2 separate regions of the Homo sapiens genome follow, and region 2 is linked to region 1. The links are contacts of gene promoters, found by promoter capture Hi-C in blood cells and fetal thymus (Javierre and others, 2016). All regions are on one chromosome and are shown on one strand. The core of a region is centred on a gene start or on the middle of the fragment in contact, and the rest is flanking DNA. Distances in the headings are between cores, read along the strand shown. Region 1 holds the start of C9orf78 (chromosome 9 open reading frame 78). Region 2 holds the start of ENDOG (endonuclease G).

Evidence for each region. Contacts are between HindIII fragments. The CHiCAGO score rates a contact against its expected background, and 5 or more counts as called.
Region 2: a contact is called between the fragment with the promoter of ENDOG here and the fragment with the promoter of C9orf78 in region 1, in 5 of 17 cell types (fetal thymus, naive CD8 T cells, neutrophils and 2 more). The highest score is 9.0, in fetal thymus.

The regions. Positions count from the first base shown.
Region 1 is chr9:129,830,593-129,838,058 of GRCh38, reverse strand. C9orf78 (chromosome 9 open reading frame 78) reads left to right here and starts at 2,784. Exons shown (of 9, transcript NM_016520.3): 1 at 2,784-2,920; 2 at 3,293-3,352; 3 at 4,350-4,401; 4 at 4,542-4,612; 5 at 6,086-6,163; 6 at 6,991-7,188. The coding sequence starts at 2,838. It overlaps USP20 (ubiquitin specific peptidase 20), which reads right to left and starts at 2,601. Exons shown (of 26, transcript NM_001110303.4): 1 at 2,560-2,601. RefSeq lists an enhancer at 1,851-2,351 and silencers at 2,323-2,472, 2,503-2,852. The HindIII fragment of the contact is 4,419 bases long and covers 212-4,630 here.
Region 2 is chr9:128,813,203-128,819,914 of GRCh38, reverse strand. It overlaps ENDOG (endonuclease G), which reads right to left and starts at 1,415. Exons shown (of 3, transcript NM_004435.2): 1 at 730-1,415. The coding sequence starts at 1,230. It overlaps KYAT1-SPOUT1 (KYAT1-SPOUT1 readthrough), which reads left to right. Exons shown (of 25, transcript NR_182311.1): 25 at 1-264. It overlaps SPOUT1 (SPOUT domain containing methyltransferase 1), which reads left to right. Exons shown (of 12, transcript NM_016390.4): 12 at 1-264. RefSeq lists enhancers at 412-501, 452-1,017 and a silencer at 1,122-1,181. The HindIII fragment of the contact is 1,677 bases long and covers 1-1,628 here.

The DNA.
Region 1 (7,466 bases), core at 1,535-4,034:
AAAAAAAAAAAAAAAATTGTTGTCAACGTGCATGGCTTCTCCAAGTTTCCTCCTTCATGCTAATGAGAACCAGTTGGATACTGTTTGTCTTGCTAAGGTAAAAGGCTAAGAACAGCCTGGCTCTTTCATCACTGTTAAATACCCCACAATCAGGACTTGAGTTCAGGGTGTACACTCTAAATAAAAGCTTTTGTAAAATAAAGTTCAAGCTTACAGACCCCTAAAACCACCAGGCAGTGACTGGAACCCAAGGCCTATCATTCAATCCACTGCTTTATCTGTCATGTTTCCAACCAAATCCCAAACCAGAATGCGCTAATTTTAATTTGCAACTCAACCTTGCCACCCTCCCGGAGGTGATTCCCTTGTTTTGCTCTATTTGTTTCTTTTCCACAGCACTTACCATCTTCTAACACACTTTACATACTTTACTGTGAGAACATACACTCAACTAATCAGGGATCTTTTGTCTCTTTTGCTGACTTATTTCAAGCACTTAGAACAGTGCCTGCTCATATAGTAAATGCTAAGAATCTGTTGAATACATTGATCCAATAAATACATTTATTGGATGCCGACTATAGCTGGGCTGTGAACTGTATCACGTTGCTGGATCCCAAATCCAATCGGACATGAATGCTCCCTGAACCCTGAAACAAGCCAACATTTCATCTGGCTCCAGAAAGGAGCTAGGAAACCAACCAAAACCTAGGTTGAATCTGTACATTTTCTTAAAACAACTGAACTCCCAAACAAGACTAAGACCTTGGATTCATCTTTGAACTGCATAGAACCTGTATTTCTCGGAGGGTCCTTTTGAGAGACAGTCTCATCCTACGCTTAAAAGGGCCCAGTGAGACTTGGGCTGCAGTCTCTTGGCAAAGCCACTTACTGCCAGATTCATAGCTGCCACTTTTTCAGCATTCCTTTTGCTAAAGAGCACTCAATTAGATCTGCCACAGCACAGGTGGTGGTTATCACTGGGTCCTCTGGCCTCATGGAGCAAGGGTGGGAGCAGCTCATCTGTACCCTGGGACTTCAGCTGAGGAGGAGGGTCCAGAAATGCCCCTGGCCTTCTTGCCCTTTCCTTAGTAGTGTCCAGTACCCCCTGGTGGATGGGCTGCTTGATGGGCAGATTCAGAGCCACCTCTGAGAGCGTGAGAGCTGCAGACGTTGACCCCCTGGACTCCTGCAGCAATTCCCAAGGAGCCTCTCCATCATCTGACAGGGACTCCGTATCCAGTGAGTGCACGTGCATCTGGGTTTGGCTGAACCAGTCTGCAGAGGGCAAGACTTTGAGACTTTAATATATGGCTTTTGACCAAAGATAAAACGCTGGTGCAAGAAGTCCCGAGTCTACTATTTTTTCCAGCCCAAGGAAGAGAAGAACAATCTCAGTGGAGACTGTTCCAGAGAAAACGTAAGGCATTCTAGAAATGCTGCCCTGCTTCGGAATGGTCTTCCAGAAAGGGGAACCCCAGACAGCCCCCATCGGCCCCTCCCCCTAGCCAATGAGATGTAACAGCAGCTGCAGCAGCAGCAAACATCTACTGCACTCCTACCGTGCCAGGCCCTGTGCAAACCGTGCGGCAGAGACTGACCTGCAACCAATTCCTGTTCCACCTCCTAGCTGGGTAACTTGAGGCGTGCACTGCCCCTCGGAGACTCCGCATTCTCATTTGTAAAACGAAAAACAATCTACCTCAAAGGATTGCTGGGAGAATTCAATGAGATGATGCTTTGCCCAGGGCCTGCCACATAGTAACTGCTTAATAAGAGGTAGTTCTCAAAGTAAGGGATGACACTGAGAAAAGGAAAACTACTGTTACTTAAGGGGTTCTTAAAAGTCCTAGAAGCCATTATTTATGCATTTAGGTATTTCCTAAGCGTTTGCTGATACCAGTTTTTCAAATAAACTTTATCCTCACAGCATCTTCGGGGTGGAAGGGGCAGAGGGTAGAGCGACAGACCTGCCGAAGGAGGAAAACCAGACCCGTGAAGGTCCAGGGGGGTGGCCGGCAAGCACCGAGGAGGAGTCCCCCGGCTCAAACCCTCTTGCGTGGCTTCAAAACATCAGACGCGCCTCTCCTCGCGGAGAAGCTGGGGGCCATTATTTGTGAGGCAGTCGGCGCTGGGACTCTAAGTCAGCACCGCAGAGAAGTGGTCATCTTTTGTTCCGAAAGAAAAAAACGCACGTCAGGGCTCAGAGCCCGAGGAAAGAAAAGTCAGCGCCCGAGACGCGAGACGCCACGCGGATGCTTTCAACGCTAGGTCAGGCCCCGGCAGAAATGAGAGGGGGGCGGCCCCGGTTCTGGAGAAGCCACGAGCCCCCAGGGAGCTCAGAGTGGGGTGGTGCTGGGGCCCAGAGGCCCCCCTGGGCGCCGACCGGAGGAGGGGAGAGGGGCGGCGGCGGCCGGGGGGGTCCCGGGCTCCGCTCACCGGGCCGCTGCGTCTGGCGTACCTGGCGAAGCCAGGCCCTGTCAGCCCGGAGCCGGGCTGGGGTCGCCAATGCTCAGAGGCCCGGCCCACAGAAGCAGCCGGTGGCGGCCCGGAACTCACCTGCACTCGCAACTGCGCCGCCGCCGCCTGTCAGTCAAGCGCGCCCCCTCTGAGGCGACGCGCAGGGTTGTGGGGCCGTCTGGCGACGCCCCACCTCCTTCCCTCTGCCGTCCAATCGGAAGAGGCTGACGCCAGGAGAGGGGGCGTGGCCACGCGGACTGTGCGTGCCGGGGGCGGGGCCAGACGGGGCAGGCGCTCTGACCGCTCTGCCGCGCGCCGGAAGCAGCCTGGGCCGCTGCGCAGAGGCGCGGCGGCTGTACAACTCGGCCGTTGTCACCATGCCGGTCGTCCGGAAGATTTTCCGTCGCCGCCGGGGCGACTCGGAGTCAGAGGAAGATGAGCAGGACTCAGAGGAGGTTCGGTGCGTTTGGGGCGGGGCTCCCATAGGCTTGGTAAAGATAGACTTGTTTGGGGGACTCACCACCGGCTCGGCGCTTCGCTGACATTGTTAACTGTGAGCTCGGGTGGTGGTTCCTTCTGCGGACGCAGAAATTGAGGCTCAAGGGGTGAGGCCACCGCCCCAAGCTCGAACGGTTGAGAGAGATGCCTCCGGGATGCGCAGTGGCTCTGACTCCCGGTGGGTCTAGGCACAAGGTCGTCCTCTGGACCACTGTGCTGGTGGCTCAGTAGCTGGGCTGGGATGCCCTCGAAGGTGCCTTATTGGCTCTGTTAGCTTTGGATTCCGCGGGGAATCACTCAGCTTATGCATTGCTGCTTCTTCTTCTTTTTAAAGATTAAAACTGGAAGAGACCAGAGAGGTACAGAACTTGAGGAAGAGGCCCAACGGGGTGAGGTGGGTACCACGCGGGGAGGAGGAGGAGGCGGCGGGGACGACAGACACATCCGCGTCCGGGTCGCTGTCACAAATATCTCCTCAGACGTAGATTTTTCTCTTGACACACTGTACACCTTCCACTGCCCAACTTGGAGAACAGCGTTCTTTGCAAATGTTTAACCAGGACATGCCCTGAGCTGTGTCGTCTCGGGGTGTGCTCCAGAGATACAGAAACAGATCACTAACTCGCGTTTTTTATTAAAACCAATTAATTGTGAAATGCATATCGATCGTTAAGAGTTTGTATAATTTAGAAAAGTATAGTCAAGACGATAAAAAGCACCCATAATTCTCCCATCCGGAAATGATCAGTGTTAACATTTTTTTTCCTTGCAGAGCCACCCAAGAATGCACTGGTATTAATATTGAATACTCTTTCCAATCTGTTTTTTTTCGTCTCTCTCTCTCAGATTGTGAACAACTTTCTATGTACTTTTATTCCCTGTTCTTTTCAACTCATTATGACATTGTGGGCATTCACCCATATTGTGGAATATTTTTCAGAAAGCCTTAATGGCTGCATAATATTCCACCAGATGTGTGTATTGTAATTTGTTAACAAATCCCCTATTTTGGGACATGTAGGTGATTTTGTAAATTTTTACTATCAAATAAGGCTGCAGTGGATATTCTCTTAAATTTATCTTTAGCTGCACTTTCCATGATGAGAATATCTTAGAAATGAGATTTCCAGGCCAAGATAATGCCAAATGGCTTTACAGGAAAGTGGCAAAGTGTACCACTTCACCACCAGCGCACCCTTCTTCCAGCATCTGCGGTGCTCGTTGAGCCCTGTCTTATGCTTATAGGCTTTTCCAGCCGGCTTGCCTACCCACCCCTCAAATCCCACCCTTGCACTAATGTTGCAATCCGCATACCTGAGAGGGTTCCTCCTTATCTCTGAATTATGCCATTTCTCTCTCTCCCCCTCTCTTTTTTTTTTGGTTTTGCTCAGTGCTGTGGCCTTGCTGGTGGGAGAGAAGGTACAAGAGGAGACCACTCTAGTGGTAAGTTATGGGGTCTTCCCTGAGTAGTTATGGCAGCCCTCCCTGCAGTGCTCTTCAGTGAGTGAGCGTGCTTCACAAAAAAAAAAATTCCACTACCATGTATTTAGATGCTTCCTCTTAACTGTGTTTGCTTTCTGCAGGATGATCCCTTTCAGATGAAGACAGGTGGTATGGTGGATATGAAGAAACTGAAGGAAAGGGGCAAAGATAAGTAAGTTCAGGACAAGCTTAGATGCAAATTCACCTTTAGCGGCTGCCTGGGTCTAGGTTCCCTCAGAGAGCTGGGGCCTGTAGCAGCAGCATTAGTAGGACATCTTGAAGCAGGTTTTGTGCTTTGCAAAGGGTGTGTTATTTAAAAACAAAGAAAGCAAAAAGTCTTTAAAAGTTAACTTAGAGCCAAGTTGGTAGACTCCTTTTGTAAGAGTGTATTGTAGGCGTGATGACTCATGCCTATAATCCCAACACTTTGGGAGGCTGAGGTTAGCTTGAGTCCAGGAGTTTAAGACCAGCCTGGGCAACATAGTGAGACCCCTGTCTCTACAAAAAAAAAAAAAAGTGTGTATGTATACACACACACACACACACACACATATGTACACACATATACACATATGTATATACACACATGTATATACACATATACACACACACACACACACATATATATATATACACACACGCATATATATATGTGTGTGTATATATCTGGGTGTGGTGGCATGTGCCTGTAGTCCCAGCTATTCAGGAAATTAAAGTGGGAGAATCACTTGAGTCAGGGAGGTTGAGGCTAGAGTGAGCCGCGATCACACCACTGCACTCCAGCCTGGGTGACAGAGAAAGACCCTGTCTCAAAAAAATAAAATAAGTGAACCTATGGGGAAGTTTCATATAAAAACAATTAACAAAAATAATAAATTCAGGCCAGCTGCGGTGGCTCATGCCTGTAATGCCAGCACTTCAGGAGGCTGAGGCAGGCGGATTACCTGAGGTCAGGAGTTCGAGACCAGCCTGACCAACATGGTGAAACACTGTCGCTATTAAAAATACAAAAGTTAGCCGGGCATTGTGGTGGGCACCCGTAATCCCAGCTACTCAGGAGGGTGAGGCAGGAGAATTGCTTGAACTCGGGAGGCAGAGGTTGCAGTGAGCTGAGATTGCGCCACTGCACTTCAGCCTGGGTGACAGAGTGAGACTCCGTCTCAATAAATTAATAAATCAAACATTCAAATAATTCAAAAATTAAAAAAATAAAAGTTTACTGTGTACTTTTGTGACAACTATATAGCATTTACATTGTATTTGGTATTATAAGTAATCTAGAGATGATTTAAAGCAGATGGTAGTGTGTGTGTAGGTTAGATGCAGATATTATACTATTTTATGTAAGGGACTTCACTATCTGCAGATTTTGGTATCCTTGAGGGACACTAGAACCAATCCCCCATGGATACCTAAGGATAAGTGTATCCACTCAATCCTTGGAGGTATCACTAGCAGCCAACAGTTTGCTTGCATATATTTCTAGAGTTTCTTTTCTTTACATATACTACGGCATTTTTTTTTTTTTGCCAACTGTAAATAGGATATTATAAATGCTTATGTCTTTGTTTTCTTCTTAGAACATAAAACTCAGCCTCATTGAGTTGTGACTTGAAAGCTCTGCCTCATTGTTCTCTCCCTCCAGGATCAGTGAGGAGGAGGACCTGCACCTGGGGACATCGTTTTCTGCAGAAACCAACCGAAGGGATGAGGATGCAGACATGTAAGTGTCAGTCTGTTTGGCTGTGAGCAGTTGGGGCTGGACTCCAGTCAGAGTCCAAGATATTTAGTCAACAGATGACATTTCTAGAATTTTCTAGAAGATGTCAAAGTTGGCCCCTCTCTTTCTACTTCCCAGCTTAAGAACTTTGAAAACCTCTTAAAAGGTCTTTTCAGGCCGGGCACGGTAGCTCTCACCTGTAGTCCCAGCACTTTGGGAGGCCGAGGCAGGTGGATCATCTGAGGTGGGGAGTTCGAGACCAGACTGACCAACATGGAGAAACCCCGTCCCTACTGAAAATACAAAATTAGCTGGGTGTGGTAGTGGGCACCTGTAATCCCAGCTACTCGGGAGGCTGAGGCAGGAGAATTGCTTGAACCTGGGAGGCAGAGCTTGCGGCGAGCCAAGATCTCGCCATTGCACTCCAGCCTGGGCAACAAGAGTGAAACTCCGTCTCCAAAATATAAAAAATAAAAACTTGTTTTCAAAGGTGGTTTCATGACTAGTAATATTTCCCCAAAACATTGCAGGGATAAAACATGGGCTTGCCCACTTTTTATTTTGCCAACAAAGCTATTGGCAAACTATCATCTTTCTGTCTTCAAAGAACCTTGTACATCATAACACCAATAGATTAGTGGGACATAACCTCATAGGTTGGTGCTTCTTTAGAAAATTTCTAACTTGATGAAAAAACTCAAGTTATTTTTTTTCTCGTTTCTCCATGGACTGTCACTGGTCTGCGGGCCAGTGTTGGGGACCACTGATTTAGAGGACACCTGGTGTGTGTTTCCCACCCCTCCCTGAGGCCTCTGGGTTTCTCACTTCAGGATGAAGTACATTGAGACAGAGCTAAAGAAGAGGAAAGGGATCGTGGAACATGAGGAACAGAAAGTTAAGCCAAAGAATGCAGAGGACTGTCTTTATGAACTTCCAGAAAACATCCGTGTTTCCTCAGCAAAGAAGACCGAGGAGATGCTTTCCAACCAGATGCTGAGTGGCATTCCTGAGGTGGACCTGGGCATCGAGTATGTTTGAGACCCCTAGGCAGAAGACACAGTGCTTTCCAGTTAAAAGTTATGGGGGACAGGCCAGGCACGGTGGCTCATGCCTGTAATCCTAGCACTTTGGGAGGCTGAGGCGGGTGGATCACGAGGTCAGGAGTTCAAGACCAGCCCGGCCAAGATGGTCGAACCCCGTCTCTACTAAAAATACAAAAATTAGCTGGGCATGGTGGCAGGCACCTGTAGTCCAGCTACTTGGGAGGCTGAGGCAGGAAATTGCTTGAACCCTGAAGGTGGAGGTT
Region 2 (6,712 bases), core at 166-2,665, 1.0 Mb after region 1:
TCCGCCTCCTGTCAGATCAGTGGCGGCTGGAGATTGTCATAGGAGCTGGAACCCTATGGTGAACTGCGCATGTGAGGAGGTTGCGCGCTTCTTTTGAAAACCTAATGCCTGATCTGTCGTTGTTGCCCATCACCTCCAGATAGGACTGTCTAGTTGCAGGAAAACAAGCTCAGGGCTCCCACGGATCCTACATTACTGTGAGTTGTATATTTCACTATATGTTACAATGTAATAATAATAGAAATAAAATGTACATAAATGTAACGCACTTGAATTATCCTGAAACCCGCCCTCACCCACCAAGCCGTGGAAAAACTGTCTTCCACGAAACCGCACCCTGGTGCCCAATAGGTTGGGCGCTGCGGTTCTACAACAGACAGCCTTCTTCTGCTGTGTGACACTGTGCCCGTCACTTTGCCTCTGTGAGCCTCAGCGCCTCATCACTACCGCAGGAGGAAGGTGAATAACGGTATTATCCCCATTTTTTTGACGAGGAAAGCGACGCTCAGGGAGGTGCCCAGGGTTCGCAGTTGAAGCTCAAGCCCTGGTCGGCCTGCAGACCCTGTGCCTGGAGCCCAGTGCTCCTCCCTCCCGCCACGGGATGTCACTGCGATGCCTGACCGGGGGCGCGTTGGGCAGCTGCCCCGTTCTGCAGAAGAACAAACCGAGGCCCCGCGAGGCCAGGCGCCGGCCCCGCATTCCGCGACCGGCCCGGGGCGCGGGCGCTACCTGGGGCGCGACGTTGCTCAGGTAGAACGTGTCGTCCATGGCCTTCTGGCTCCAGCGGTGGTTGGCGGCGGCGGCCAGGTGACCGCGGTCGAAGCCACTGCCGCGGTAGTCGGCGTTGGTGGCACGGTGGTACGCGTGCACCGAGTCGTCCTCGCGGAAGTCGCACTCGCGCCGGTCGCCGTCGCCGCGGAGACGCTCGGGTCGCAGCTGCTCCACCACCCAGAGCGCGCCGCGGGTGCGCGGGTCGTAGCACAGCACGTACGACTCGCGGCTCTTGAGCTGCGCCAGCCCCGGCAGCCCGTACTTGGCCAGCTCGCCCGGGCCGCGGGGTCCCCCGGGCACAGGGGGCAACTCGGCTGCCGCCGCCACGGGCAGCACGGGCAGCCGGCCCAGCAGTCCCGGCGCCGCCCGCGCGTCCTCCCGCCGCCGCCGCCAGCCCTCGACGACCGCACCCAGCCCCGCGCCCGACGCCAGGGTCAGGCCGGCCCGCAGCGCCCGCATGGCCGGGGAGCGACCTAGCGGCGGGCGACCCGCGAGGCTCTTAAAGGAGCCGCGTCGCGGGATCCAACGAGGGCACAGGGCTGCTGGGGCCGCGGACGATAGCGTGACCTCCCTTCCACTCACAAACACTGCCAAGGGCTTGGGCCTCGGAACCCAGAAGGGAGCAGCAGAGCCCAACCGGGTGTCCCCGGCGTCCTTTCTTTGCGCATTTAAGACGCCGGTATGAGGGGCGTGGCATCGTCGCCTCAGCTCGCGATTGGCCACCATCAGGCCTGGCTCCGCACCCGCCTCGCAGGCCCCCTGCTGGTCGTGGGGTGGGAGACACTCTCTCCTCTGCGCCTGCGCAGGGAGCTCCTGCTTAATACGCTCCGCGGAAGGGTCAAGCACTGTCGAAAGCTTTTACTGTCACTGCTTAGTCTCACCCTCTACACCGCTCGGAGAGTGAGCTCCTAGTTCGCAGAGCAGGCACAGGGCCCCAGGTATATCTGGCCCTAGGCTATCCTCCATGACACCATAAAATAAGCCCCGCAATTCTACCAGATTGGCAAAGGTTTCTTTTTTTTTTTTTTTTTTTTTGAGACGGAGTTTCGCTCTGGTCGCCCAGACTCGAGTGCAATGGCGTGATCTCGGCTCACTGCAACCTCCGCCTCACAGGTTCAAGCGATTCTCCTGCTTCAGCCTCCCAAGTAGCTGGGATTACAGGCATGCGCCACCACGCCCGGCTAATTTTGTATCTTTAGTAGAGACAGGGTTTCTCCATGTTGGTCAGGCTGGTCTCAAACTCCCGACCTCAGGCGATCCGCCGGCCTCGGCCTCCCAAAGTGTTGGCATTACAGGCGTGAGCCACCGCGCCCGGCCCAGATTGGCAAAGATTTTAATTAACAGCAGTTTGAGGACAAGGATGCAGACGGCTGATGCTGGCTGCTGGCTGGAACAGAAACCTGGGGCGAATATTCCAAAAAACAGCTTGACAGTACAGTACAAGCGAAGCCTTAAAAAGGTTCATACCGTTCAACCCACGCAGAGGGCTGAGCTGGGGAAATCTCGGGAATGCAAGGATCTCGAACGCAAATATTCACCAGAGTATTACACTGCCGGCAGGAATAAGCAAAATATTCAGAAATATGGACTGGTTAAGGACTTTTATTTTTTGAGACGGAGTCTCACTCTATTGCCCAGGCTGGAGTGCAATGGCGTGATCTCCGCGCAGTGGAACCTCTGCCTCCCAGGTTCAAGTGATTCTCCTGCCTCAGCCTCTGAAGTAGCTGGGATTACAGGCGCGCACCACCAGGCCCAGCTAATTTTTTTTTTTTTTTGAGACGGAGTCTCGCTCTGTCGCCCAGGCTCACTGCAACCTCCGCCTCCTTGGTTCAAGCGATTCTCGTGCCTCGGCCTCCTGAGTAGCTGGGACTACAGGCGCGCGCCACCACGCCCAGCTAATTTTTGTACTTTTAGTAAAGAATGGGTTTCACCATGTTGGCCAGGCTGGTCTCGAACTAACTCCTGACCTTGTGATCCACCCACCTTGGCCTCCCAAAGTGCTGGGGTTATAGACATGGGCCACCCAACCCAGCCACTCTTAGCATTTTTTTTTCCTTTAAGGAAAATAAGGTCTTGTGCTGTCACCCACACGGAGTGCAGTGGCAAGATCACAGTTCACTGCAGCCTTGACCTCCTGGGCTCAAGCCATCCTCCTGCCTCACCCTCCCGAGTAGCTAGGACCACAGACACATATCATGATGCCTGGCTAACTTTTAAATTTTTTATAGAGATGGGGCCTCGCTATGTTGTCCAGGCTGGTCTTGAACTCCTGGCCTCCAGTGATCCTCCTGCCTTGGCCTCCCAAAGTTACAGGCATGAGCCACTAAGCCCTCCTGAGGTCAGTAGTTTGAGACCAGCCTGGCCAACATGGCGAAACCCTGTCTCTACTAAAAATACAAAAATTAGCTGGGCATAGTGGACCGTGCCTGTAATCCCACCTACTGGGGGACTGAGGCAAGAGGATTGCTTGAACCTGGAGGGCGGAGGTTGCAGTGAGCCGAGATCATGCCACTGCACTCCAGCCTGGGCAACAGAGTGAGACTCTGCTTCAAAAAAAAATATGGGACAGGGTCTTGCTTTGTTGCCCAGGCTGTTCTTGACCTCCTGGGATCAAGTGATCTGTGGGCCTCAGCCTCCTGAGTAAATGGGACTACAGGCTATGGTGTATCACCATACCCAGCTACTTTCAGCAATTTTGAAATATACATTAACTATAGTGACCATGCTGTAGTTTGTGTTTTTTTTTTTTGGAGACAGAGTTTTGCTCTTGTTGCCCAGGCTGGGGTGCAATGGCGTGATCTCGGCTCACCACAACCTCTGCCTCCCAGGTTCAAGTGATTCTCCTGCCTCAGCCTCCCGAGTAGCTGGGATTACAGGCATGTGTCACCATCCCCAGCTAATTTTTTGTATTTTTAGTAGAGACAGGGTTTCTCCATGCTGGTCAGGCTGGTCTCGAACTCCCGACCTCAGATGATCCACCCACCTCAGTCTCCCAAAGTGCTGGGATTACAGGTGTGAGCCATCGCACCTGGCCATACCATGCTATAGTTCTAAAAAAAAAACATTCCTGGGCCGGGTATGGTGGCTTAGGCCTGTAATCATAGCCCTTTTGGAGGCCAAGGTGGGAGGATTGCTTGAACCAAGGAGTTCAAGACCAGCCTGGGCAACATAGTAAGACCCCCGTCTCAAATTAAAAAAAAAAAAATCCTCCTGTCTAGCTGAAACTGTACCCTTTGACCAACATTTCCCCATTCCCCACCGCCCCAACTCCCACCAATCCCCAGACTCTGGTACCATCATTCTACTCTCCACCTCTATGAGTTGTTTTACATTCCGAATATAAGTGAAACCATGTCGTGTTTGTCTTTCTGTGCCTGGCTTATTTCACCTACCGTAACGTCCTCTAGGTTCTTCCATGTTGTCACAAATGACAGAATCTCCTTTTTTTTTTGAGGGTGAATCTCGCACTGTTGCCTGGGCTGGAGTGCAATGGCACAATCTTGGCTCACTGCAACCTCCCCCTCCCAGGTTGACGCAATTCTCTTGCCTCAGCCTCCTGAGTAGCTGGGATTACAGGTGCACACCACCACGCTCGGCTAATTTTGTTGTATTTTTAGTAGAGATGGGGTTTCACTATGTTGGCCAGACTGGTCTTGAACTCCTGACCTCGTGATCCACCTGCCTCAGCCTCCCAAAGTGCTGGGATTACAGGCGTTAGCCACCACGCCCGGCCTTGTCTTTTTTTTATAAGCCATTCTGACAGGTGTGAGGTGGTATCTCATTTTGGTTTTAATTTGCATTTCCCAGATGATCCATGCATTGTTCAGCATTTTTTCAGATAGTTGCCAGAAATTTTTATGTCTTTTTTTATTTTTTTTTGAGACAGAGTCTGGCTCTGTCACCAGGCTGGAGTGCAGTGGCTCGATCTCGGCTCACTGCAACCTCCGCCTCCTGGGTTCAAGCACACACCACTATGCCCATCTAATTTTTGTATTTTTAGTAGAGACGGGGTTTCACCATGTTGGCCAGGATGGTCTTGATCTCTTCACCTGGCGATTCGCCTGCCTCAGCCTCCCAAAGTGCTGTATGTCTTCTTTTGAGAAATATCTATTCAGGTCCTTTGCGTGTTGTTTAAATCACATTGTTTTCTTGCTATTGAGATTTTTGTTTGTTTCTGTTTTTGTTTTTTAGACAGAGTCCTGCTCTGTCACCCAGGCTGGAGTGCAGTGGCACGATCTCGGCTCACTGCAACCTCCGCCTCTGGGTTCAAGTGATTCTTGTGCCTCAGCCTCCTGGGTAGCTGGGATTACAGGCACCCACCACCACTCCTGGCTAATATTTTTGTAGTTTTAGTAGAGACTGGGTTTCACCATATTGGCCAGGCTGGTCTTGAACTCCGGACCTCAGGTGATCCACCCGCCTCCGCCTCCCAAAGTGCTTGAATTACAGGCATGAGCCACCATGCCCAGCTGCTACTGAGATGTTTTAAGTACTTATATATCTTGGATATTAACCCCTTATCAGATGTATGGTTTGCAAATATAATCATGCATCACATAAAGATATGTAATCCAAGCTACCCTGGGATGCTGAGGCATGAGAATTCCTTGTACCCCGGAGGCTGAGGTTGCAGTGAGCTGAGATCGTGCCACTGCACTCCAGCCTGGGCGACAGAGCGAGACTCTATCTCAAAAAAAAAAACAAACCAAAAAAAGTATGCCAGGCTAGGTGGCTCACACCTGTAATCCCAGCACTTTGGGAGGCCGAGGCAGGTGGATCACAATGTCAGGAGTTCAAGACCAGCCTGGCCAACACGGTGAAACACTGTGTATACTAAAAATACAAAAATTAGCCGGGTGTGGTGGCACACACCTGTATTCCCAGCTACTGGGGAGGCTGAGGCAGGAGAATTGCTTGAACCCGGGAGGCAGAGGTTGCAGTGAGCCGAGGTAGTGTCACTGCACTCAAGCCTGGGTGACAGAGAGAAACTCTTGTCTCAAAAAAAAAAGTAATAATAATAAAAAATAAAGAATGATACACCTGTCTGTATAAAGCGCTTACCATGAATGGAGCTTCTGGGACAGGAAGTTGCTCTGCGTGGGTCACTGAGGAGTGAATGTGAAGGCCCAGAACAAAGTCTACTCTACGCTACTGTAGACTTTATCAACACTATATTTAGGCTACACTAAATTTATTTGAAATACTTCTTTCTTCAATAATAAACCTTAGCTTACTGTAACTTTTACTTTTTTTTTTTTTTTTAGGCGGAATCTTGCTCTGTTGCCCAGGCTGGAGTGCAGTGGCGCGATCTTGGCTCACTGCAAGCTCCGCCTCCTGGGCTCACGCCATTCTCCTGCCTCAGCCTCCCGAGTAGCTGGGACTACAGGCGCCCGCCACCACACCTGGCTAATTTTTTGTATTTTTAGTAGAGACGGGGTTTCACTGTGTTAGCCAGGATGGTCTCGATCTCCTGAACTCGTGATCTGCACGCCTTGGGCTCCCAAAGTGCTGGGATTACAGGTGTGAGCCACCGCGCCCAGCCACTGTAACTTTTACTTTACGAGTTTTTATTTATTTATTTATTTATTTATTTATTTATTTTGAGACAGAGTCTCACTCTGTTACCCAGGCCAGAGTGCAGTGGCACAATCTCAGCTCACTGCAACCTCCACCTCCCAGGTTCAAGTGATTCTGCTGCCTCAGTCTCCAAGTGAGTAGCTGGGATTACAGGTGCCTGCCACCACGCCTAGCTAATTTTTGTATTTTTATTTTATTTATTTTATTTTTTTTTTTGAGACAGAGTCTCACTCTGTCACCAAGCTGAAGTACAGTGGTGCCATCTCTGGTCACTGAAATCTCCGCCTCCCAGGTTCAAGCGATTCTCCTGCCTCAGCCTCCCGAGTAGCTGGGAATAGAGGCGGGCATCACCACACCCAGCTAA